3 separate regions of the Homo sapiens genome follow, and all the other regions are linked to region 2. The links are contacts of gene promoters, found by promoter capture Hi-C in blood cells and fetal thymus (Javierre and others, 2016). All regions are on one chromosome and are shown on one strand. The core of a region is centred on a gene start or on the middle of the fragment in contact, and the rest is flanking DNA. Distances in the headings are between cores, read along the strand shown.

Region 1 (4,399 bases), core at 845-3,344, 180 kb before region 2:
CCCTGACTGGGACGCCCCAGCCCTCCTGAGCTCACTGCCCAGGGATCCGGCCAGTGCCCCTCCCCCATGCGGGCAGTGGGCTGGGACGCGCGGGGGGAGGGGGCTTGGGCCGCGTCGTCCCTCCGCCTCCCCAGGTCCCAGCCGTCTTGCTCCCTGAGCTGCTGGCGGGGTAATAAGCTCTGCGTGTGGTGTGGAAATAAAGCACGTTCCACGGAACAAATGGTGTTAATGTGCAGAAGCACTGCAGCCCGGAGTTACCCAGCGCCTGGAGGGCGGCGCGGCAGCTGCACCAGAATGAGCGGCTGCGCGGAGAATCAGCGAGGCCATACGTCCCCGTCCCCGTGGAGGGACAAAGCATCCCAGCCCTGGCCCCCAGCAGCGCCGGCCCTCCAGGCGGGAGGCGGTTCCAGGAAGTGAAGTGAGCAGGTGCTGGGACTCCCCTCCCCTCCTGGAGGCGCCTGCCCAGAGTAGTCAGTGACCACCCCTAGGTCCCACCTGACGGCCCTGCCTGGCCAGGTGTGGTGGCCACTGGGACAGCCTCCCTCAGACCCGAGGCCACTGCCTGTGGGGTCCAGCGGCCTTGTCCTGTCTCAGCTGCCATCACCCCACCAGGCCCCCAAAATGTGCTCTGGGGCCCATCCCGCCACAAAGCCTGGGGTCTCACTGCTCCTCTCCTAGAACGGCCACTTTTCTTCTTTACGCAGGGGTCACGCTCCAGGCCTTTCTCCAAGCCCTCCCCGCGCTGGGACGCATTTACCCGCCTGCCTGTTGACTTCGGCTGGCACCCACTCCTGGGCTGCTCAGAGCTGCTGCTCCCTGTTGATGAGCACTGTAGGTGGCTTCGAGATGCACGCCTCGGGACGATCTGCCTTCCTCCCCCGCCTGCCATTCCCGCACTGACAAACGTCTGCCCTGGGTGTTAGGAGCGAGGTGCACATTGCACCTTACATCCTCATGGGCGGCTCCAGGAGCCTCACTGCAGCTGATGAGTACTTAACACCATCATCCATCTGTGTGGCCGTTGGGGCTGGCACAGAAGCTCTGGATGCCTCTACCTGGAAACCAGGGCTGTTCTCCCTGGATGGCAGGAAGGAAGCAGGTGGGAGGCGGGCGGAGGTGCTTGTTCCACCGGCACTCCTGGGTTCTGAGGACATGGCACTTCCCCGCCTGTGTCTTGCTTTGGCCATAGGTTCTGAGCTTCTGCTTCTCCTCTGTGGGTACGAGGGCCGCTCTGGCATTATGTCTTCTAGACCTGCGCCTCCTTCAGACGTCAGGGCCGTGCACTCAGACACCTCCAGTGAAAGCTTTTGGGGTTTGGATGGATGGACAGATGGACAAATTAACAGCATTCTGCACTTGGAATGACAAAACTTTAGGCAAGAAAAGGGTCATTGGAGAATATCTAGTCCAACACTCTAATGGGATAGAGAGGGAAACTGAGGCCAGCAGAAAGCATGTCACCTGACCCAGTCACAGCCCTTGGATACAGAGGGAAACTGAGGCCAGCAGAAAGGATGTCACTGGACCCAGTCAGCCCTTGGATAGAGAGGGAAACTGAGGCCAGCAGAAAGTGTGTCACCAGACCCAGTCAGCCCTTGGATAGAGAGGGAAACTAACGCCAGCACAAAGGATGTCACCGGACCCAGTCAGCCCTTGGCCTAGGACCTGCAGACAGGCCACCTGCTGCTTCTGTGACCCCCACAGCCCAGACTCACACATCTTCCTCCAGGTCAGGGAGTGAAGGGGTCTGCAGTCCTCTCCAACTGAGGGCAGGGACAGTCTCTACGTCCTGAGACCCCAGGCCCCTGACCTACCTGCCGGCCTGCCTGGCAAGGGCACACCTATCAGGTTGCACCATAAGGCCACCGGGCTGGGTCTGACTCACCCACAATCCATCAGCCTGCTGGTCTTTACACATTCTGGGAGAGGCAAGAATCTCTGTAGTTGCTAAAACACTTCCTCTTGGTTATTCTGAGAACTAAAAACACACATTATTTGAAAGTCTTGGGTTTAGTCTAATCTAAACCCCTCAGGTCGTGACTTAAGCTCTGGCCTCAGAGGTCTCCATTTATGCTTGGATGAGCCACTCCTTTGGTCTTTGTCCCCTCACTGGAAGGCATGTCCATGAGGAAATGGGGAGAAGAATATAGAGCTATGAACTTGGAATTTTGGTGTCAGAAGGACCTAGGTTCAAGTTCAGGCTCTATCACTAGCTAGGGACCTCACTTTCTTCATCTGTAGACTGACGATAATAATAGTACATACCTCAAAAGAGCTGTGCAGATTCAAAGTGATCCTGTGTCTAAACCTTTCTGTATGATGTCTGGTACCAAGTGAATGCCCAGAAAACGGGTAAGGATTGTTGTGATGATGATGATGGTGAGGATGGGGATAATGATGATGGTGATGATAGGGATGGTGATGACTGTGGGGATGGTGGTGATGGTGATAGTGATGATGATGGTGATGATGATGGTGGAGATGATGGTGTGATGATGATGATGGTGATGGTGGGGATGATGATGATGGTGATGATAATGCTGCTGCTTGCAGCGTGAGTGGACTTGGATCAGTGTGTGGATCCTCCCAGGACTTCCTCGGAAGTGCTGGGCACACATTTCCAAAAGGAGCCTCCTTCTCATGTGCAGCTACAAATAGCATGTCTAGCAGATTGGGGGCTGCCTAACCAATCCTTTCATCAGCGTCCCCATGGACAGGTCTTTAAGAAAGCTAAGGTCAGGACCAGGTGCCATGGGTGCTCCAGAGATCCAGCACAAAGCTGTGTCCTGCAGGTGTTTAGAGACAAGTGGGAAAGACATGCTGGACTTTGGGAATGTTAAGCGTCCATGCTCCACAAGAATAAAAGAGGCCTCATGAAGCTTCACAAGAGCAGTGGCCCAGGGAGCGAGGGGAGAGACAGAAGGCTGGGCAGAGGCAGTCGGTCTGGACAGGGCCCTGAGACTGGTTACCTGAGACAGAGGTGAGGAAGAGGACGTGCCAGGAGAGGGCCCCATGGTGTGCAAACTGAGGGCTCCTGTGTCGTGTGGTAGGAGGTGGCTGGAAGAATGGGGTAGGACAGGCCCCCACAGGCAGGAAGGTTGGGTTTCTCCAGTAAATGCAGAGCGAGGCCCTGTGAGAAAGGGTTCCAGTCTGGCCCGTCTTAGCTTTCAGAGTCACGGCTCCCGAGCCTGCCTGCTCCTTACTGGCCCCGCCCATCTCTGATGCCAGGCAGCCTCTGGCCTCTGTTTCCCTCTTAGTCAAACTCCGACTTTGCAGAGAAACTCCGTTCTGAAGCAAAATTTTACTTACAATGGCAATTTATAGCACATCTGCTTGGGAGGGGCCGTGGCTGTCGGGGCTGGTGGTGAGGGTGGCTGCAGCGAGGGTCCCAAGTGCCCTGCCGCCCCCACCCGCCCTGCATGGAGGCCCCTTGGCAGAGCTCCAGGCTCTGCTTCACACGGCTGGCCTGAGGCCGCCTGTCTGGACCCAGTCCAGCCTCTGTGGCTCCTGCCGCCTGCCATGGCCTTCACCCTAGCACCCCCATCTGAGGTTCTGACCTCTGGATATGAGCACCAAAGGCTCCTGGGGAAGCTCTATGTGCCAGGCTGGCAACGTGGGGTTCCGCAGTGGGGAAAAGGGGGTCTAGATGGTTGCTCATGGGCCCCCCTCTTCCCTCACCTTGGACCAGGGTGCAGAGCCGACTGCTAGTTGCTGCAGCCCTTTCCCGGGCCAGGGGGTGGCCGGCGGTCACTGCCGGGTTCCATCTGCTGGATGCAGGAGAGTGGCTCCAGATGCACTGGGAGGGCCGCGTTCGAATGTCAATTCCATCTTCTCACAATCATTTTCCGCATCTTCTTAGTGCCGGGCGAACGCAGCCTGCTCGTTTGAATGCATAATTAGCCCAAGCATTCTACCTCGCTAATTTCAAGGCAGGGGAAGGGAATGGAGGGGGGCTTGGGAATTTGCATATTAATTTAGCCGAGGGAGAGAAAAATTGTTTACCACTTCCTTCACACAGTTGCTCACAGAGGACTTAACTCTTTCCTGCTCCGCGTCTGGGGCTTGGGGGAGAGGGTGTGCATGGGAGGTGCGGCCAGCCCTCCCGCTGCGTCCACTCCAGGGCGGTCCCTGCACACAATGTGCTGGGCTCAGCCACAGCCCCCTTTCTTTGCAAGGACCACATGGGGGCTGTCTGGGTGCCAAACATGTACGGACAGGGGCTGCTGGGGACGCCCTCCTCGGCTGGTCCTCACCTGCAGTTTTCAGGAGCCAGAGACACCTGGATCCACAGTGTTCATCTATTTTCTCCACAATGCTCCCCCAGCCCCAGATCGGGCATCAGTACAGTGCTGGGTAGAGGGGGGGCACACACGCTGCCCCCACACCAGGGTGACAGGGG
Region 2 (4,980 bases), core at 2,481-4,980:
CAGGCACGGTGGCTCACGCCTGTCATCCCGGCACTTTGGGAGGCCGAGGCGGGTGGATTGCCTGAGGTCAGGAGTTCAAGACCAGCCTGGCCAACATGGTGAAACCCCATCTCTTCTAAAAATACAAAAAATTAGCTGGGTGTGGTGGCGGGTGCCTGTAATCTCAGCTACTTGGGAGGCTGAGGCAGGAGAATCCCTTGAACTCAGGAGGTGGAGGTTGCAGTGAGCCGAGATCGTGCCACTGCACTCCAGTCTGGGCAACAGAGTGAGACTCCATCTCAAAAAAAAAAAAGAAATGAAAACTGAGGGGACACAGGGGACCTGAGGGTGGACAGCACAGGAAGGGACGGCTTGCCCCTCTCAGCCACCCCCATGGGGCCCTGGTGTTGGGTCACACACGGATCCTGTCTGGAATAGGAGTTGTCCTGGGCGCTGGGGCCCCAGGGGCCAGGCTGCCATGAATCCTCAGGCCCGGCTCTGGAACAGGGTGTATTTGAAGAGTGTCACTGGAAAGGCCAGGGTCGGAGCCGTCTGTCCCCTGCCAGGCAGCTGGCAGGAGCCCTGGCCGGGCCTTGTGTGTCAGCAATCTCAGACAGGGTGAGGATGACAAGGTTTTCCATGGCCGGGGCCCGAGCTCAGAGGGGCATGCGTCAGGGCCTGGGCCGAGTCCAGCAGACTCTGGTCTTGGATGGAACTGGTTGCAATCCTGCCTCTGACAGGGAGGTGGAGGCACGGGTGCTGGCAGACCCTCCAACACACAGGCACAGACACACGGGGCAGGGGGCTCCATCCCAACAGGAGGATCCCAGGCTGAGGCCGCACTCCACCCAGCGTACCTGTCCTCGGTGCAGATGTGGGCGCTGCCCCTGAGGAGCTTTGGTTTCTAAGGGGAGAGCTGGCCAAGTCATCAACACTGGACGGACAGCAGGAAAGGCGTGAGGACAGCGGCTCTCGAGGGAGGAGGAGCAGCCCGGCAGCCCTCCCGGAAACAGTGGCACCGTGTTCGCAGGGGGAACAGCGTCCAGGGACCACGCACACGTAAGTGTGTGGCTGTGCGGAGCCAGGGAGAGGGGAAGGGGCGTCCAGGGCCATAGCCAGGTTCCAGACAAGGCCCATTCCTCCCCGACCTCATGAGCCTGCCCCAGAAAATCCTCTGGGTGGTGAACAGATGGGGTGACAGCATGGTCTTCAGTCAGCCTCCTGGAGGTGGGAAAAGAAAACAGAATTTCGGGACCTAAAACGCACTAAGCCAAAGGGAAAAGTCAAGCTGGGAGCCGAATCACACACACCTGCCTCCCATTTTCTTCCTAATTGGACAGCCACGAAGATGAAGAAGCCTGTGCCTCCTCGCATCGCGCTTACAGGGAAATTCCTTGTGGGTCCCAAGATCTTGGCTCTGAAACAGTTCTGCTGGATCCCACCCAGATAGTGTGATCTAGCAGCTTATCTTCCCAGGTATGGGACAAAGGACAGAGCTAACGTTACCCTCCGCTCACCGGAGGCGAATGCGAACCTGCCAGCTTCCTATTCCCTGTGGCAGTTTTATCTTCTGTGGAAACGCAGAGTCGCTGAGCGTGGGGCTACGTAATTCTCTTCTCTACCCCCACCTTCCACATTTCAAAATGTGCATTTGGTGACTGCCAATCAGAGATTCAAAGGAACGCTACCACTTGCCTTTTATCCGCCCTCCCTTTTCTTTCCTTCCTGTGTTCCCCTCCTGCCCGCTCTTTCCCTTTAAGTATAAAAGTCTCCAAACCCTCTTTGGGTTTTTTTGTTTTTGTTTTTTGAGACAGTCTCACTCCGTCGCCCAGGCCGGAGTGCAGTGGCGCGATCTCGGCTCACTGCAACCTCTGCCTCCCGGGTTCAAGTGATTCTCCTGCCTCAGCCTCCCAAGTATCTGGGATTACAGGCGCCCGCCACCATGCCTGGCTAATTGTTTTTGTATTTTTAGTAGAGACAGGGTTTCACCATGTTGGCCAGGCTGGTTTTGAACTCCTGACCTTAAGTGATCCGCTCACCTCGGCCTCCCAGACTGCTGGGATTATAGGCGTGAGCCACCATGCCCGGCCTCCAAACCCTCTTTGGAAAAAGCAGAGCACAGATGTTGCCTGTGGCTTCGTGTTTCTTTTTCCTGGGTGCACCCTTAACCTTGGCAAGATACACCTCTAAACTGATTGATTGAGACCCATCTCAGACACCTTCTGGCTTTTACAGAGGTGAGAACAGACTGGGTGCAGGAGCCTGGGTTCCCAGGCTGTGGCAGCCTCCATGTCCACCTGCTCCCCGAGCCCCCAGCCCAAGATGGAGGAAGGGCCGCCCTGCGTGGGTGGTGCATGGTGCAGCAGTGCAGCTCCAGCCTAGGCCACGCCCTGTCTCTCTCTCCTCCCCCAGTCCCAAATTCCCAGGAATCCCAGCCCCACTGGCTAAACACCGGGGTGCAGTCACAGAGAGGATGGCCTCGGCCTGGGGGTAGGAGCTGTGCAGGGGGCCCCGTCTCCCACCACCAATGGCAGGGGTAAGAGCCATGCATGACCCCCTGGCCCCGAGTCCTTCACAGAGTGGGTGGGAGACGGCAGCACTGGAGATGAAGGCCAGAGCAGACTCCAGCAGCCGCGGTGGCAGGTGCAGAGGGAGGCGCAAGGGCGGACACGGGTCACCTCCTGCTGCAACCCTGCATGGGTGAAGCCAGGTGCAGACACCACCGGATGCCCACTGAATTCCGCCACAGTAACTCACGCCGTCACTCCCCACGGAGACCCCGCCCCACAATAACTCACGCCGTCACTCCCCACGGAGCCCCCGCCCCACAGCAGAATAATTCTGGCCTCATGGAAGTGGCTCCCACCTAAAAGATGACCCAGACCAGGTGCGGTGCTCACGCCTGTAATCCCAGCACTTCGGGAGGCCGAGTCGGGCGGATCACCTGAGGTCAGGAGTTCGAGACCAGCCTGGGCAACATGGTGAAACCCTGTCTCTACTAAAAAGACAAAAAAAATTAGCTGGGCATGGTGGCAGGTGCCTGTAATCCCAGCTACTCAGGAGGCTGAGGCAGGAGAATCACCCGAACCTGGGAGGCAAAGGTTGCCGTGAGCCGAGATCGCGCCACCGCACTCCAGACTTGGCAACAAAGCAAGACTCCTGCCTAAAAAAAAAAGAAAAAAAAAAAAAAGGCCCAGAATAAGGGTTAGGGAGGCAAGGGTCCCTGGGGACTCCATGGGGGTCAGGATGCAGAGACAGCTGTTGCTGCCCCTCCTCTGGGCCCAGGACCCCGCCCCAACCTGCCTCGGCCCTCTCATCCCATGCACCTGCTCTCGGTCTCTGCTCAGGCCCTGCCTCTCCTGGTCGGAAGCCACCTCTCCAGCCTGCTTGGTCCCTGGTACTAGAAGAAACCACTCCCGTGTTCCCACTTAGATCGAGTGTTCATGCAGTGTGGCGTTCGTGCCGTGTGGATGCTGCTGAGGTGTGAACCCTGTCACAGACCAAGGCTCCAGTGAGCCACAGCGTGGCCAGGCGGAAGCAGAAGAGACCGGTGACCCCCACTCAACTCAGCCTCTCCTTCCTCCAGGGAGAGTGTCCTGGAGGTACCTGTCCGAGTGACAGGGAAGGGGCGGGGCCGGGAGCCAAGGCTGGAAGCTCAGCCCCACTCAGCCTTTGCAAATGCTCTAGTGGGAGCAGCTGGCCTCAGGGGAGGGCTTAAAACTCCAGGAGAGCCTGGGCAGGTGCGGACGCGAGGGGAGTGGAGGGGAGGCCTCGCCTGGCCCACCTTCCTCCTGCCCCTCTACCATGTGGCCCTTCCCGAGCCGCTCTCTCTTCCCACCCCCGACTCAGGCCTGGCTCCAGACGGTCTCCTCAGACCCTGAGGCCCAGGGCTGGGGGGCCTGGAACGAGACCAAGGAGATTCTGGGGCCAGAGGGTGGGGAAGGGAAGGAGGAGAAAGAGGAGGAAGAGGATGCAGAGGAAGACCAGGATGGGGATGCAGGCTTTCTGCTGTCTCTGCTGGAGCAAGAGAACCTGGCTGAGTGCCCATTGCCTGACCAGGTAACAGCTGTGTGGAGGCCCTGGGGATCTCAGGGGACCTGGGGCACAGGGGCTGGTGGAGACACGGGGTCTGGGTGACGGATGGCTGCAGCTGACTTAGGAGGGGAGAGGGCCATTGCCCACCTGCCTGGACGAAGGTGGCAAGGAGACCCCCCGCCCCCAGCCACACAGACTGCAGGGTCAAGGTGGCCTCTCTCGCCTGGGGAAGGGCCCTTGAGGTGCGGTTTCGGGGGCTTCTCTGCAGGGGCGAGTTCATCCCCAGCCAGCTGCCCCAGGAAGGAGTGTCCCTGTCCAGAGAAGGGCTGCCCCTTGGGGCTGTGACCCTCTGCTGGAGCTGGCAGGCCACACACCCACCTTCCTTGAGCAGAGCCTGCAGGCTGCCTGCCCGGCTCAGGGCCGTGTGTCGGCAGGAGCTGGAGGCCATCAAGATGAAGGTGTGTGCCATGGAGCAGGCCGAGGGGACGCCACGGCCTCCAGGAGTGCAGCAACAGGCCGAGGAAGAGGAGGGCACCGCGGCCGGGCAGCTGCTGAGCCCTGAGACCGTGGGTAGGAACCAAGGGCACAGGCCGCCCCCCACTGAGCAAGGGTCCCACAGTTTCCATTAAGGTTGGGCCTGGCAGGCTCCAAGGTGTCACCTCCCCTATAAGCCTGGGCGACCTTCCCCGTGAGAGGAGTGAGGAAGGAACCAAGGGCCTGCGGGCCTGAGCTGTGTTCTCCGCAGGCTGCCCCCTCTCTGGGACCCCCGAGGAGAAGGTGGAGGCTGACCACAGATCCGTCTACGTGGGCAACGTGAGTGGTGGGCGGGGTGAAGGGGCAGGCAGCGAATGGGGCCCCATCTCTACCAGAGGGTCTGGCGCCCGGCCATGGGCCAGGCAGCCTTGCTGGGAAGGGGGTCTGACCCTGGGGGCAGCCCCGTCACCTTGAGGAAACACTGGCCTGGGC
Region 3 (4,378 bases), core at 1-2,500, 230 kb before region 2:
AGCGCACCAGACAGGCCACGTCCAGCCTTTCTCACCCACACTGCTGGAACGTTCCGTACGTGCCCAGCATCTCAGCTTTCTATTTCACTTCATGAGTTTAAGGATTCCCAAACCACACAAAATTCTAAACAATGAAATAAACTAGGTAAAACCAAGGAGAAGCATATAAAATTCAACACACTTAAGGTACATCTGAATAATGGGTTTTAGAATCCTGAGCCTGGAAAACCACCCGTGAGAGGGGGAAGTGCAGAGAAGAGCTCAGCACAGCCCCCGCTCACAACAGGCATGGCCTGGAGACCCCGCCCCCGGGGCAGACACGGCGCTGCCTCTCTCAGACCCTTCCCACACTGGTGCGCAGTGGAAATGTGGTGAGGTGCCAAGGTTCGTTTTTTTGAGACAGGGTCTTGCTGTGTCGCCCAGGCTGGAGTGTAGTGATGCAATCATGGCTCACTGCAGCCTCGACTTCCTGGGCTCATGCCATCCTGTGGCCTCAGCCTCCCGAGTAGCTGGGCCCACAAGCATGTGATACCACACCCAGCTTTTTTTTTTTTTTTTGGTAGAGACAAGGTCTCACTGTATTGCCCAGGCTGGTCCAAAGTCCTGGGGTTATGGCAGGTGTAAGCCATGCTTTTTTCCTTCTTTTCTTTTCTTTCTCTCTCTCCTCTCTCTCACCTTTTTTTCCTTTCTCTCTCTCTCTTTATTATCTATCTGGGATGGAGTCTCACCCGCTCTGTCTATCTATCTATCTATCTAAGATGCAGTCTTGGTCTGTCACCCAGGCTGGAGTACAGTAGTGTGATCTGGGCTCACTGTAACCTCCGCCTCCTGGGTTCAAGTGATTCTCCTGCCTCAGCCTCCTGACTAGCTGGGATTATAGGTGCGCACCACCATGCCTGGCTAATTTTTGTATTGTTAGTAGAGACGAGGGGTTCACCATGTTGACCAGACTGGTCTCCAACTCCTGACCTCCGGTGATCCACTCACCTTGGCCTCCCAAAGTGTTGAAATTACAGGTGTGAGCCACTGCACCCAGCCAAGCCAAGCTTTAAATCAGGCAATTCACAGAGCTAGAAAACGTGTTTTAGGTTGAACTATAATTCTCTCCTTTCCCCCCAAAAACTTAACTACTAAATAACAAATAAATCAGCAGGAAGCGAGGGCTCCCTGGGAGGGGTCGCGCGGGCCCGCCGTCCACTGGAATTCTTCATTCAGAGAAAGGAGACCGAGAAGAAGCCAGGGTGCCTCCGCCTGTGGGCCCAACGCTCCTGACGCGTGAGGGCTGGTCCAATTCTGCAACATGCATTCTGCAGCCAGAGGACACTGCCCACGGGACACCGCCCCAGGATGCGGACACAGGCCAGGGGCACAGCCCCCGCATTCCAGAGCGAGAAGAAGGGGTGGCACTCTCCACGAGGCTCCTGCATCCCTGGCCCTTTATAATCAAAGCTTTGCTCGACTCACAGTAAGAATAGGCTGGTCTGCCTCCCTTCCTGGGGGAAGCACCCTCTGGGCTCTGCTGCCACTGGGCACTCAGCGGCCCTCGGTCTGACAGCGTCCCAGGCCTGTGGCCGAAGCGTAGTCAAGTTGTCCGTTTGGTTTTCAGGGACTTTGAACAAGTATTATTTTGACAATGATGCTACCGTCTAATACACACATATTAGGTTAGGTTTCATCTCAGCATTTTGCCTCAACCACACTCTGTTCAGTAAACAAACAAGGCAACCACTTGTTCGCACACAGAAAAGCAAAGGAGGCCAAGTTCAAACTCACCCAGCTCCCGAGCCAGAGAGAGGAGGTAAGGGGAAGTTCGCAGTTCACAAGAGCGGCAGGCACAGCTGCTTCAGCAGGTGGAAGGGCACGATAAGGTGCAGGCAATGCAAATGCTCATCCTCCTGGGGCAGGCACCAGGCCTGGCGCTGGAACCCGGAAGGCCGGTGGGACACCTGTCAACGGGCATCTGTGCTGAGGTCCCAGGCTGTGTGTATAACGCTTCCCACAGGCACAACACTCAACACTCAATGGGGGAAGGGAAGCATGTTCATTTACAAGCTAAAGACAACATTATCAAATAAAGCTGTGAGCCTTATCTCCCGACAACGGGCAGCAGTGACCCCATGACCCTGTCGAGTCTCCTCCCACACACCACGCCCCCTCTGTGGGATCTGTGCCCATGTTCAGCAGGTTCTCTCTCTCCAGCACATCTCTTTCATTAACTTGTGAGGGGAAAGCTACTGTGTTATTGTCTGTGGTTTGTACTAAACAGTTTTGTTTTCTGCTCTTAGTTTGAAACCGTCACAACACTTCATAGTTGTCTAACAAAACAAACTTCATGACAATGAAAATTGTCAGAGCCAAAGTATGTTTTGTGCTTGAGACCCTCAACTACTGGCCTTGGTTTTTGCTTGTTTGATTTGGGTGTCTGGTTTCCCCACTAGCCTGGGGCTCTTTTGTTTTTTTTTTGAGACGGAGTCTCGCTCTGTCACCCAGGCTGGAGTGCAGTGGCACGATCTCGGCTCACTGCAAGCTCCGCCTCCCAGGTAGCCTGGGGCTCTTAATGAAGTCCCCTGTCCCAGCCAGCTGAGGGATCTCCTGCCTCTGGCCCAGGCAGGAGGAAAACGAGCCACGCAGGGCCCTGAACCTCAGCACAGCTCCGCGGGCTGCTTGGACGTCCTGTGTGAGTCTTCTCTGAATCCTACCAAACGGTCAGTCCTGCAGGCCACATCATCTCCTGACGCGAGGCACCCATGTTCTAGAAGCCCTCCACAGCTGTTCAGAGGCAGGGCAGTGGCTGGTCCGCCCACACACCTGGACTCTGCTACCATAGAGAAACCCAGAGAATGGCAAGAAAACAACTGGGCTTCACCAGACACAAGACACGAGATCGGCACGTGGGCTGTGCCAGCTTCAGAAAGCAGCAAACCAGGGCGGCCCCACCACGCTTCCTTCCTCACTTCCAACCGATCCTGCACTGCTTTACAGGTGTGAGGGCACAGAAACAAGGAGAATCCACACACAGAAAACCGACTGGGCACTGGGTGCTCTGGGTTACGGCCCCGAGGCCAGACTTCCGCTGCTGAGAGCCACAGGGAGTGCCTTGGGTGCTCGGAGCAGGGGACGGTGCTTTCTGGGGTGCTAAGGAGCGGAGCACTAGGACGGCCGGCGACACTCACTCAATATAGAAGGTGCCTGTCATTGTGTGTAGCTGTTTCTCAATATGACAGAAGCACATAAAAGGGGGATGACGGCTTCCCTCTAACTAAAGCTGCTGCTCAGAAAAGGTTTCTGCAGACCACAAAGAACCGAGTTCTGACAAAGCGAGTTCAAGCTCGTGCTGTGCACACGGTAACCACACGCTGAGCACACGCTAACCACACGCTGAGCACACACAGCACACACTACCAGAGCACAGCCCCCCTTTTGGCATTTCTACAAATTCCTGAGTCACCCCGCAGGGCGAAGCCACGGAAGAATAAGAGTGGATTCCCCACAAAACCCAGAGCTCAGCAGAGCTGGTGATGCTGACGTGCACAGCTGGGCTGGGCAAACTCAAAGTGCAGGCTGAGAAGAAACTGCTGTTCTCCTGCGCGGAATCCAGAGCGCTGCCTGTGGGTGGGCACTCCTGCCACCAGCCCCTGGGAGGTGACAGATGTGACTGGCCCCGTGTGACATGGTCCCAGCTCCCAGAGAGCCCACGCGCTATGAGGAGAGGCCACGGGCAGGAGGAACGGACGGGGGCCTGGTGGGGAGGCTTCCTATGGAGGGTGAGAAGGGCCTGGCCTAGCCAGAGTCGGCCGAGGGAAGGGGGGAGTCCTGGCACCTACAGCTGTGTTCACTCGGGGTGTCTAGGGCACAGATGCCGGGAAGTCACATTGCTGGGTCATCTTTAATTTTGAGAAATACTGACAAAGTCCCCTCCAACGAGGTGCTGATTTATTCTCCCACCAAGCATGTGGAAAACGGAACCAGCCCCATCAAACCAGCTTTTCAGTCCCTCAGGCTTGGGACAATGAAGTGCCCAGTCATCAGTTCTCTTCAGCACAGAGGTTGAATCTTCACGGTCATCGGATCAGAGCCCTGCCTCGAACACGCAGACAGAGCCTACTCAGGGCAGATGGCTGTGCGCGGTCTTCCTGCACACCTCCCGGTCCAGAGGCACCCCAGCTTCCTCAGAGAGAACCTCACCTTTCAACCACTGGGACCCCTTCTACCGTGGGGCTCCCCATCACCACCAGGAGCACAGTGTGGAGGGACACTGCCCACCAGACAAATGCAGTTCAGTCAGGGGCTTCCACCCTCAGCCAGCTTCATACCCCTGCTACGCAGCACCCTGATAACCCGAGGTCAGCGGCGTCACCACGTGGCTGGGCAAGGACTC

The links. Contacts are between HindIII fragments. The CHiCAGO score rates a contact against its expected background, and 5 or more counts as called.
Region 1: a fragment that was not itself captured here is called in contact with the fragment with the promoter of PABPN1L in region 2 in 1 of 17 cell types (endothelial precursors); the score reaches 5.5 in endothelial precursors.
Region 3: a contact is called between a fragment that was not itself captured here and the fragment with the promoter of PABPN1L in region 2, in 3 of 17 cell types (endothelial precursors, M1 macrophages and erythroblasts). The highest score is 6.2, in endothelial precursors.

What each region holds. Positions count from the first base shown.
Region 1 is chr16:89,044,126-89,048,524 of GRCh38, reverse strand. No RefSeq gene overlaps it. Among named protein-coding and RNA genes, the nearest start is that of ACSF3, 48 kb to the left of the region's middle. The HindIII fragment of the contact is 1,575 bases long and covers 1,307-2,881 here.
Region 2 is chr16:88,865,410-88,870,389 of GRCh38, reverse strand. It overlaps PABPN1L (PABPN1 like, cytoplasmic), which reads left to right and starts at 3,730. Exons shown (of 7, transcript NM_001080487.4): 1 at 3,730-4,038; 2 at 4,449-4,584; 3 at 4,760-4,827. The coding sequence starts at 3,784. The HindIII fragment of the contact is 14,417 bases long and covers 1-4,980 here.
Region 3 is chr16:89,096,159-89,100,536 of GRCh38, reverse strand. ACSF3 (acyl-CoA synthetase family member 3) reads right to left here. Exons shown (of 11, transcript NM_001243279.3): 2 at 1,774-1,946. Among named protein-coding and RNA genes, the nearest start is that of ACSF3, 4.5 kb to the right of the region's middle. The HindIII fragment of the contact is 403 bases long and covers 1,049-1,451 here.